Linked DNA regions of Homo sapiens: region 2 is linked to region 1. The links are contacts of gene promoters, found by promoter capture Hi-C in blood cells and fetal thymus (Javierre and others, 2016). All regions are on one chromosome and are shown on one strand. Each heading gives the region's core, a stretch centred on a gene start or on the middle of the fragment in contact. The rest is flanking DNA. Distances are from core to core; before and after follow the strand shown. Region 1 holds the start of TAF1D (TATA-box binding protein associated factor, RNA polymerase I subunit D). Region 2 holds the start of SRSF8 (serine and arginine rich splicing factor 8).

Evidence for each region. Contacts are between HindIII fragments. The CHiCAGO score rates a contact against its expected background, and 5 or more counts as called.
Region 2: a contact is called between a fragment that was not itself captured here and the fragment with the promoter of TAF1D in region 1, in 1 of 17 cell types (total CD8 T cells). The highest score is 6.4, in total CD8 T cells.

What each region holds. Positions count from the first base shown.
Region 1 is chr11:93,738,263-93,744,151 of GRCh38, forward strand. TAF1D (TATA-box binding protein associated factor, RNA polymerase I subunit D) reads right to left here and starts at 3,233. Exons shown (of 6, transcript NM_024116.4): 1 at 3,060-3,233; 2 at 975-1,069; 3 at 1-237. The coding sequence starts at 1,042. It overlaps C11orf54 (chromosome 11 open reading frame 54), which reads left to right and starts at 3,410. Exons shown (of 9, transcript NM_001286069.2): 1 at 3,410-3,466. RefSeq lists enhancers at 1-855, 2,893-3,402, 3,531-4,216, 3,983-4,102, 4,623-5,162. The HindIII fragment of the contact is 24,379 bases long and covers 1,191-5,889 here.
Region 2 is chr11:95,061,830-95,067,421 of GRCh38, forward strand. SRSF8 (serine and arginine rich splicing factor 8) reads left to right here and starts at 5,090. Exons shown (of 1, transcript NM_032102.4): 1 at 5,090-5,592. The coding sequence starts at 5,398. RefSeq lists enhancers at 4,914-5,592, 5,396-5,585 and a silencer at 5,066-5,145. The HindIII fragment of the contact is 4,351 bases long and covers 2,040-5,592 here.

The sequences.
Region 1 (5,889 bases), core at 1,983-4,482:
GTTGGCTGGTACCTCCTCTTTTTCTTTTTTTTATATCTCTTTTTCCTGTTCTTGAATCTTTCAAAAATAGCTTTTATAGTCAATGGTATTGGTTCAAAAGATGAGTCACTTGATGAATCACTTGCGTGAACACTTTCAGGTGTACGAACAAATTTTCGAATGGGGTTTCTTTTCTCCCCTTTAGGTGAGTAAGGGATACACTGAGTTTTAAATAAGCTGCTATCAGAAGAGTTATCACTAGAAAAATGGGAAAAAAATTAATTTCATCTTCTTTTCTTACTGCTTATTACCATTAATACCCAGTCCTAAATGTACATTTCTTCCAAGACCAACTCAGAAAACATGCCCAGAATTAAAAATTTTTTAAAGGATGGGCTCAGAACCAGCTAGCCTTTCTACTGATCATCCTATTTAAATAGCCCATAATGCTACAGCTCTTATTAAAGAGTTTTGTAGACATCGTCTTGCTGTCACCCAGACTGGAGTGCAGTGGTGCAATCACAGCTCACTGCAACCTCAAACTCCTGGAAACTCCAGGGATGCTCCTGCCTCAGCCTCCCAAGTAGCTAGCTAGGACTAATGGCATGCACCACTATGCTCAGCTTACAAAAAAACTGTATCTTTCAAGACAATGTATGAGCTCCAAAAGGCTGTATGGTTCGGTTCACTGCTAAGAGTGTCTGAGTAAAACAAACACAGCCTACCGAACCGGAGGATGTAGTCTGGAAGAGATGCTAATATGACCCAAAGAATACATTTTTTCTCGACGAATGTGTCCCATAATATATTCACATTTTGAATTTAAAGTATTTGCAATGCTATTATATCAATCTATGTAACTAGATAAACTTGGAAGGTCAGTGAAATCTAGTTTTCCTTCTTTCCCAATTCCTGAAAATTATCTTTACTGTCACTCATTATATACAATAGTTTCTCATAATTCAGATACAATAAACATGATTGAATCCACTCACCTTCGATTTGCAAGTTCCACAGCATCAGATGTCACATGGTCAAGAGAATCTATTCCTGATTTATCCATCAATTGCTCTTTGTTTTAAACAGTTTTCTGAAATTATGAAATTTAGTAAATATGACAAAGCTTCCCTAAATATTGACAGTATCTACTACAGTGTTGAACGTGGTCAGACTATGCCAATGATTTCAGGCGAAATCATTTACCAAGGTTAAGCTTCTTATCCATTTCAGATCAGTTTCTTTAAAAAGAAATCCAGAAATTCTATTCACAGGTTCTTTCAGTTGTTACCCTCTAAATGTATTCAACGCAACAAGATTCCAAAAAAGTACCGTCCCTTCCAACAAAAGCATCTTTCAATATAAGTAAAAAATGTAGTTTTATCATTAGCCACATATTTTAACGTACAATTACCAATACAGTATTAATGTACAATTAAAAGCCGTTTTCCAAGATCAAAGGGGGAATTCCTAAAGCAAAGTGTGCCCTATATAAACCAGGAAAAGGATCTCCAATCAATAAACCATTTTAAACTCCTAATCACCTCTCCATTATAATTCCTAGATTCTTCATTCCTAGATTCATTTAAGCAACTGAACTTTGTCATATTGTATCTTTGCCATTATTGGTGGAAACTGACAAGTTCTGAATTCTCAACCTTTTTCAATGAACTATCATAATTCTTGTGTCTTCATCCCCATGGTAGAGAGTATACAACATACCAAAAAAAAAAAAAAAAAAAAAGAAAAAGATTCCTTCTTGTGAGCTAAAAGAAAAAAGAAAAACAGGTTGGTCTGGGTGGCTCAGGCCTGTGTAACACAGCACTTTGGGAGGTCGAGGCGGGCGGATCGCTTGAGCCCAGGAGCTCAAGACCAACCTGGGCAACGTGGTGAAACTCCGTCTCTACAAAAAATACGGAAATTAGCCAGAATAGTGGCGCGCGCCTGTGGTCAGGAGGCTGGGGTAGGTGGAATACCTGAGCCTGGGAGGTGGAGCTTGTATGTAGTGAGCCTCAGCAACACAAGGAGACCCTTGTCTCTACAAAAAATTCTTAAAATACTGGCTAGGTGTGTTGGCCCGTGCCTTTGCTCCCAGCCACTCGGGAGGATCGCTTAAGCCGCGGTGGAGGTTGCTGTTAGCCGAGATTGCACCACTGCACTCCAGCCTGGACGACAGAGCAAGACCCTGTCTCAGGAAAAAAAAAAAAAAAAAAAAAAAAAAAAAAAAAGGCATGGCAACAAAAATTAAAGATAACTACTTATTTCATTATTGTACATGCCTTAGTCAATCTCTTGTCTCATTCTGTAGCTTCTTGGGACCTGACATGAGTCATTACATATAAATCCTAGGATGAACTAGCAAAATATTTAAAATATGAAACGATAAGGTCACCAAGAGCTCAGATTTGTTAAATGCCCCCTGTGGTATTTTCCTGGTACAAGGTCTTACTAGTTTTTTTAAGTACAAGATTCTACAAAGTCATTAAATATCGAATGCTCAAAAACGGAATTCAACAAAAATTTGCCCCCATGCTTTAACGGTATACCTGTAGTTAATTTTTTTTAAAAGTAGGGATTATCAAAATAAAGCTAGCTCAATAATCACTTTTTCGAAGTGTTTAGAAGACACTCCTACTTGGGTGTCGATGCCTCCGTGGGGATTCTGCAATTCTTAGAGGCCACGTGGGCAGAGAGCGGCGCTTTACCCGGAGCTAACGCTGTGACCACCAGCGCCTCTCACCCGGCAGCGCCTAACCTGCAGAAAACCGGCGCGAGTAATGGGTACCTCACATACGAAGGTTAAATCATTTAAATCACGTAATAAGGTTAAACTTGTCCGCAACACGATTTAACACCTCCATCTCAAGATATAATGAAGCCCGTCCACACTACAACCACGTTTGTGTGGGACTCATACCAGCCGCGTGGCGCGGAGTGGCCTGCGGCCGTGATCCCTTCACCCTCTCGGACCGACTTCGGAGTCTCGATCCTCCGGACCAACGAAGGGGCCCCGGGAAACCCCAGATATGCAACGCCTCCCCCGCCCGCCAGGCCCGGACGGCCTCGCCCTCTTAGCAACCTACCTAAAACGGCCTCGCAGTGGCCCCAACCGCGCACTTGCTGCTTGTAACCCAGGCCTCGGCCCAAAACCCGCGACTGGCCTGGTGTCCTAGAGCTCTGTACACACCACCCTCCCGACCTCAGCCCTCCAACTCCCGATAACCAGCCGACCTCCTCCAACCGTGCGGAAGAAAAGGGTTGGCTATTTCCGTGGCCCAAGTAATAGTCAGGCCGAAATCTCGCGATACAACTTAGCTTCCGGGAAGAAGGCGAGCGGTGGGAGGAGACGCGACGTGGGGGCGCCATTTTTCTCGCCGCGCAGGGAGGACTGACTAACGTGGGCGGAGCTCTAGCTCGCGTATTCTGAGGAGGCGGGGTTGGCCTAGGCGAAGATCCGGACTCTGGGTGTTTTGCTACCGTGACCGTTTAGGTGAGTGGAATAGCCAAGAACATTTCGGCAAATAACAAAAACAAAACGTGCGGTCACTTGTGAGTGGATGAGAACTGTGAGGAAACAGCCTCTCAGCCCGGTTCGTTTCCGGTGGTCTCGCGTTTGCTGAGCTGTCGCCTGGCTTTCTAAATCTGGTCCCGGGTGTGTGGCGAGGGTGACGGGTGGGATGTGTGCCTGAGTGTTTTGTAATCCTTTGTCTATTTCTGCCTTCAGAAACCCTTGTGTGTTAAAATATTGGAGAAGGCTCATTCTTTGACCATGACTCGAAGTGTGTAACCTTTGTGCTGGACGCCAGTGTTATTCCATAGCACGCCCAGGTCTCCTCCCCACTTTTGCACCTGTTTCGTAAGCTCACCCTTTCTGCCTCCCAGGAGTTGGCTAACATGTCACAAGTGAGACCTGTGGAGGATTTGTTTTTCCTAAGTTTCCTCCTACATCCCCCCTGCCCCACACCATTAGTTCCTTGACCGGTTCCTGAGTTAAGATTAAACAGTGTAAACTAGTTTAGTTTTGGTGGGGTTTTTTTCTCCCAAAGTAATTTTTTTTTTTTTGAGACCGAGTTTCGCTCTTGTTGCCCAGGCTGGAGTGCAACGGTGCGATCTTGGCTCACCGCAACATCTGCTTCCCGGGTTCAAGCGATTCTCCTGCCTCAGTCTCCCCAGTAGCTGAGATTACAGGCGTGCGCCACCATGCCCAGCTAATTTTTGCATTTTTAGTAGAGGCGGGGGTTTCTCCATGTTGGTCAGGCTGGTCTCAAACTCCCGACCTCAGGTGATCCTCCCGCCTCGGCCTCCCAAAGTAATTTTAAAAAGGAATGAACTGGTTTGATTTTTCCGCTTTCAAAATTCTGTTTTCATATGATAAACCACAAAAATCAGTAAAGCTGTCTAGTCTTATTTTATAGTTCACATTTTAGGATTGAACGGGCCTTAAAAGTAATCTGGTCTCTTTACCTGCTTTGCTCCATAGTTTGGACAATTCCGGGGATAAAAAGTCCGATCCTTTAGGCAGCCCACTGCATTTGATCCACAGGGTCTGGGCAATGACGAAGCTCCAGGACTGGTATGGCATGTCCCTCACTGCCGTATTCAGCAGCAAGCCTAGCTGTGTAATTTGTGAGGCTCAATGCAAAATGAAAATGCAGCGTCCCTTGTTCAAAAAGAAGGGGAAAAGTGCTATTAAAGGGAAGGAACATTTAACTCCTAATGCAGAATCATTGAAATTTCACATTTCATTTTGTATTTTTTCTTTTTTCTTTTTTTTTTTAGAAACAGAGTCTCGCTCTGTCGCCCAGGCTGGAGTGCAGTGTGGCCCGATCTCAGCTCACTGCAACCCCCACCTCCCGGGCTCAAGAGATCCACCCACCTCAGCTTCCCAAGTAGCTGGGACTACACGCGCCCGCCACCACAACCGGCTAATTTTTGTACTTTTAGTAGAGACCAGGTTTCACCATGTTGGCCAGGCAGGTCTCGAACTCTTGACCTCAAGTGATCCGTCTGCCTCGGCCTCCCAAAGTGCTGGGAGTACAGGCGTGAATCACCGCGCCCGGCCACATTTGGTATTTCTCTGTTTGTGTTATAGAGACAGGGTCTTGCTCTGCCACCCAGGCTGGAGTGCAGTTGAAGCAGGATATTCCTCTGACCCCTTCGTGGGTCTTGCGGCTGCGGTGCCTCACTTACTTAGCCCACGGCTCTCAACTCCTCGCGGGAGGGGGGGCGCGAGTGAATGAGGCGGGAACTGGAGTGCTGGAAGCCACGAACTCCAGTCACCCAGGCCTGCTGCGCTCCACCCTTTATGGGAGGGTGCGTGGGGGTGAGCAGATGCTGGAGCCGGAGCGAGCGCTTTTGGTCGCCGGTAGGAGCGAACTCCATGCAGGCCCTGCGGCTGTGTCTAGGGGATGCCCGCGACCCCTGAAGACCCACAGCCTGTCTTACAACCTGTCATGGTTGTGAAAAGTTTTGAGAGAACGTCTGCACAGTGTCTAACGGTGTCTGGTATATAGTGTGCACTCAAATGGTAACCAGTTTAGTTGCGATAGTTGGTCTACCCCTCCAGGTGTTAACCTCTGCAGCTCCGTTTCCCTTCTAGACCCTATTTCTGGGCCATCGACTCCCACCAATTAGGCAGGAAAATACTGTTTGCCTCCATCTGGCCCAAGGCTGTATTCCTGGAGTTTATGTGAGAACCTAACTCCTTTCTCAGCTCCAACTGTAACCCTCTCCCCACCTCCAACACACACATAAACACTCACATACACATGCTACCACACTGCCTGCTGTGCCATCAGCCTGCCTGAAGTTCACATCATTTTAGAATTGGACGGGCCTTCATAATTTAAATTTTATTATGAAAAAGTGATAGTCTAAGGAACTCATTTGATTTTTTTGTCTAAATGTCAAATA
Region 2 (5,592 bases), core at 2,965-5,464, 1.3 Mb after region 1:
TAAAAAAAATCTTGGATAGTAAAAGAAAAGAAACATAAACACACAAATAATTTGTAGAAAATATTACTCCTATTGTCCTCCTGTTTCTATTCAGCTACTTTCATAAATATTTTACATTCTCTTGCCAAATAAGAGCAAGCAATAGTACAGCTAAACTTGTTTCTAAATTAGTCTTCTGGAAAGTTCAGGGAGTTAGGGGTGGCTGTGGAGGGCTTCTTCAAGCAATTGTAATTAGAATTCTATGTTACTTCATCTGACAATCTCAATTTGGGTCACTCTTCTTTGTAAAATTTGCCCATATCTAGCTGTTTGCCCATGTCCAATCATAAGCTTTTGCTATTCTGTACTGTTTTGTTTTGGAAAATCAAGGAACATTGATAATGAAAATTATCTAAGAGCAAGTGTAGAGCCATCTTTGTCCTCTCCCATGACCTCTGTTCCTTCATTTCTGAAGGCTTCTCTTCATTTCTGAGAAATAACAATTATGAGTTTGATGCATATTCTTCCTGTTTATAGTCGGAAGTCTACAGAGCCAAGATGATATGTCAGGTTTGGTTTTAACAACTTCTCTTCCTCCTGCTACCTATTTAAAAACTCAATATTACAAGGCCTGAACAGATTGCTACGTATATAGATCCTAGTGACTCCAACAGAGTCAATAGACCTGTGTAATTTTTTATTTTATTCATTCCCCTGCTGATGGACATGTAGATTATTTCCACATCTTTGTTATGTCAAACAACACTTTCTTGAACAGCTGTGTGCATAGAACTGGAGTTCCTTGGTTATACTGATATTTGTTTTCAATTATTCTAAGAATAGCTAGGTCAGTCTACAATTTCTATCTCCATTAGCAGTGGGACAGTTCTGGTTTCCCCATATCTTGGCCCATTTTTACACTGTCAGATCGTTTCACTTTTTCTAATTTAAATTGAGAAAAAGTGTCTCAATGCATTTTCTCAATTACTAGTGATCTTATACATCTCCTCATATTTATTGGCCATTTGGATTTCCTTTTTTTTTGAGTTGCCTTTTCTAAGGCTTCGATCCCTTCTTTTGGGTTGACTCATTGTTTTTATTGATCTGTGGAAGTTTTCAGGATACTTATTCATTGTCTATTTTACATATGACAAAACTGTTCTTCCAGCCTGTATCTTGTCTCAATTTTTTATGTCATCATATACTGGAATGAGTTAAATATGTCAGAAATTTTCATTGTGGTTTGTGCTTTTGGCTCTTCTTTAAGATAATTTTCCCACCTTGAATTCATAAACACATTTTTCAGTATATTCTCAAATAGCCCTAAAGTTCTCTTTTATACAGTCTTTAATCCATCACTAATTTACTCTTCTAAGTAGTGCACGGTAGAGCTCTATTTTATTTTTCCCCCCAAGATCAATATCTCTTATTGAATTGTTGATTGCTTTTCATGGGATTGGTAAGCCACCTTTATTATATACAGACTCCCACATATACAGTTGAGCCTTGAACAAATGAAGTGCATGGGTCCACTTATACAGGGATTTTTTTTTTCCACAACCGTATTGGTAAATTTTTTGGAGATTTAGAACAATTTGAAAAAACTCCCAGATGTATCTTGTACTCTAGAAATATTGAAAAATATAAGAAAAAATTAGGTGTGTCATGAATGCATAAAATATGTATAGATATTAGTGTATTTTAACATTTGCTACCATAAAATATGTACAATCCTGTTACAAAAAGTTAAAATTTATCAGAATTTACACACACACACAGACCATACATAATGCCATTTGAAGTTGAGATAAATGTAAACAAATGTAAAGATATAGTATTAAATCATAACTGCATAAAATTAACTATAGTAATACTGTATTATTATAAGAATTTTGTAGCCTCTTCCTTTTGCCATTGCAGTGAGCTCGTGTGGTGAGTATCCTCTTAAAATGCTGCAGGATGCTAATCATCTCTGCCTGAGCAATTTTTTTCTCTCTGGTAAATTGTCTATCACAGTAAAAAGTGATCTCTTGAGTATCATGTTTAGGGCAATATCCTAAAGCTTGAATAATACTATGGGGCCCAGACGAAGTGCCACTAGTGATGCTGGAAATGTTCCCAAGAAGCAGAGAAAAGTCACGACAGTATAAGAAAATGTTGAATTGCTTGATGTGTAGGGTACATTGAGGTCTGCAGTGAGGTTGCCAGCCATTTCAGACAGGCTATTCATCTTGTAAATGGTTAAGGTATCCATAAATATAGTACAGTATAGTAAATACATTTTCTCCTCCTTATGATTTTCTTAAAAACATTTTCTTTTCTCTAGTTTTCTTTACTGTAAGAATCCAGTATTTAGTACATGTCACATACAAAATCTGTGTTAATCAACCGTTGATATCTGTAAGACTTCCAGTCAACAGCAGGCTCTTAGTAGTTCAGTTTTGGGAGGAGTCAAAAGTATTTGAGGAGTTTCAACTGCACAGGGATTCAGCACCCTGAATCCCCTCATTGTTCCAGGGTCAACTGTACATGTATCTGTGTCTGGTCTCAGTATCTGTGCTTAGAGGTACTGTTGATATCAGCTCAAATATTACAGTTTGATAAGGGAGAAGTCTTTTTTTTGTTTTAAGGCATCATTTTGGGGGTTGTCATTTAAATATTTGACTCTAACAGTGCTAGCTCTACCGCCTTGAACAAGTGACTTAATGTCTCAATGACTCAGTTCTGTCATCTGAAAATTAGAGGTATGAATCTTCTTATAGGTCATAAGAATTAAATGATTTATTGTACCAAGAGTAAACCGAACAGTGTTTGCCATGTTATAGTCACCAGGTATGTTAGCTATTTTAAATAATATTTTACTATTAGAAATAAAGAGGGACTTCTGTTCATCAAAAGATATGAAAAAAAGAGAGAAATGACAAACCAAGGAGTGTGAACTGATATTGTATTACTCATATCCAGCAAAGAGCTGATATCCATTATATATAAAGAGCTAGTGCAGAGAACGCCAACCCAATAGAAAAATGGACAAAATACATAATAGGCAGCTTATGAGTAAGAATACCCAAATGGCCAATGAACGTGAAAAAATTACTCACTCTCATTTGCAGTTAGGGAAATGAATTTTTTTTTTTTAAGTTTTAAGTGACAAAATCTCACTGTGTCACCCCAGGCTGTTGTGTGGGGACGAAATCACAGGTAAAACAAATCTTAATGCCCTCACCTAACTGGCTAAAACTAAAAAGTCTGATATTCACCAAAGGTTTGCAAAAGTGAAGAGCACTGAGCACCCTCATACACAGCTATCCTGTGTGTAAATTGATAAAAACTGTTGAAAAACAATCAGGCATGGTAAAGTTTGAATTCACATACAGTTGTCCCTTGATATTCTGCAGGTGGATGGGGTTTGGTCCTTAGTAACCCCTGAGGATTCTGAGGATTTTCAAGTCCATATATAAAATGGCTTGGTATGAGCATGTAACCTATACGTATTTTCCAACATACTTTAAGTCATCTCTAGATTACTTACATTATGATGAAAATGCTATGTAAATAATTGTTTACTGTATTATGTTCTATTTATTTTTATTGTTTTTTTTTTCTGAATAATTTCTACCCACAGTTGGCTGAATTCACTGATGCTGAAGCCAGAGGTTACAGTGGGCTGCCTGTATTCTGTGACAAGGGATCCATTCATACCTAAGAGGACACATGAGCTCCAGTATACATGTCCAAGCATGTTCTGAGCAACACTGTAAGAGGCCAAAAGTGGAAACAACCCAAGTGCCCATCAACAGCACAAACATTTATACCATTGAATGCCTTACGGCAAGGTAACAGGATCAAGTACAGCTACATGGAACACATAGATGAGGGAAATAAAACACAAAATACATTAAAATATAAAAAGCACAATTCTATGTATATAAGGTTACATAACATTTTCAAAATCAGCAACGTTTTAATTAATTTAATTAATTTAGAATTCTCCTGCAGAGGAGTTTTCTCTCTTTTCTCCAATGTGTTAATTTATTTAATCATTTATTTACAACAGCACAGATTAATATTTATTTTATATTTTGGAATATGATATAGTAGTATTTTAGTTTGTTCCTTAAATTGTTCAAGATTTGGCCATTGGGAGCTGTTTTATTGGTTTTTGTACCCCTCTAAAATTACCCCATCAATGCTTTTGTTTGTTTTCTATTTATCACATCCTTATTTTCCAGCACTCCAAGATGCTCTAGGCCCTTTCTGTATATTTCCTTTCCAGATTTAGAAACTGTATTTCTTCATCAGTATTGCTAGATTGTTTTTTTCTTTAAAAGTGTTAGATTTCAGTTTTATTAATCATCTTTTTAAAAAAACATATTGTCCCTTTTATTTGTAATTCTATTTTTATTTTAATGTTTTATTTTTTGTTTTGGTTTTGTTTTACTAATTGCTTGACTTCAACATAAAAAAAGTTTTAGAAATGTGGTTATTAATTTTCAAGTAAATATGATTGGATTCAGGTTTTTTATTTTTAACCTTCAATATTATTTCACTGAGGTCCAGATGTGCTGAATTTATTGACCTATTAAATTTTAATTGACATTTATTTTGTAGTCTTGTATTGGGAAATTCTTCTGTTTTCTATATATTTTTGGTTGTTGCAGGTTATATGATCAAAATTGTTGTTTGTTGTGCAAATTATTATAGCATTACTAGTTTTGTTCTCTGCACTATTGATTTCTGAGAAAACGGTGTTACGGGGAAAAAACAAACTTCCATCATGAGTGCAGATTTTTCAGTTTTACCTTATAACTCTCAGTCTTGGCTATGTGTCACTGTTATGTGTTTAGGTGCGTTAAGTTCATCACTGTAATGTTTTCCTAGTGAATTTTCTTTTCAATAACTATGAAATGTGCTCCTTTGATCCTATCAATACACTGGATATTAATATTGTTGCCCTAGGTTTCTTTTGTTTAATATTTGTCTGGATTGCCTGTTCCCATAAATTGACCTTTAATCAGTTAGCTTTGTTCTTAAGATTGGTTTAAAACGTAGAATAATAGGGAGGAGCATGGGAGGGTGGGACGTCTAATGTAAATCCAGCCCAGTGATTACATTAGCTGGGCGCTGATTAGGTTAGGATGTTGCCCAGGTACAAGGCCAGGATCTTCGGGGCCTGGCTTCATTTGGAGTTCAGCTACCAAAAGGAAACCTTCCTCTGGGTCCTGGAGTATTTGGCCTGAAATTGGGAACTCGGAAGTTGCTGCTCCAGGGCGCTCCCTGCGGAGCTCCGCCGCCCGCCTCTCCGCCCGGCCTTTCCCGGCGTCCCCACGCGGGGCGCAACCGCGAGAAAGAAACGCAGGTCGCACCGTCAGCGCCCAGAGCAGCGCCAGTTTCCGGGCCCGGGCTGCTCTCGGAGCCATGAGCTGCGGCCGCCCCCCTCCCGACGTGGACGGCATGATCACCCTCAAGGTGGACAACCTGACCTACCGCACCTCTCCCGACAGCTTGAGGCGCGTGTTCGAGAAGTACGGGCGCGTGGGCGACGTGTACATCCCGCGGGAGCCCCACACCAAGGCGCCCCGGGGCTTCGCTTTCGTCCGCTTTCACGACCGG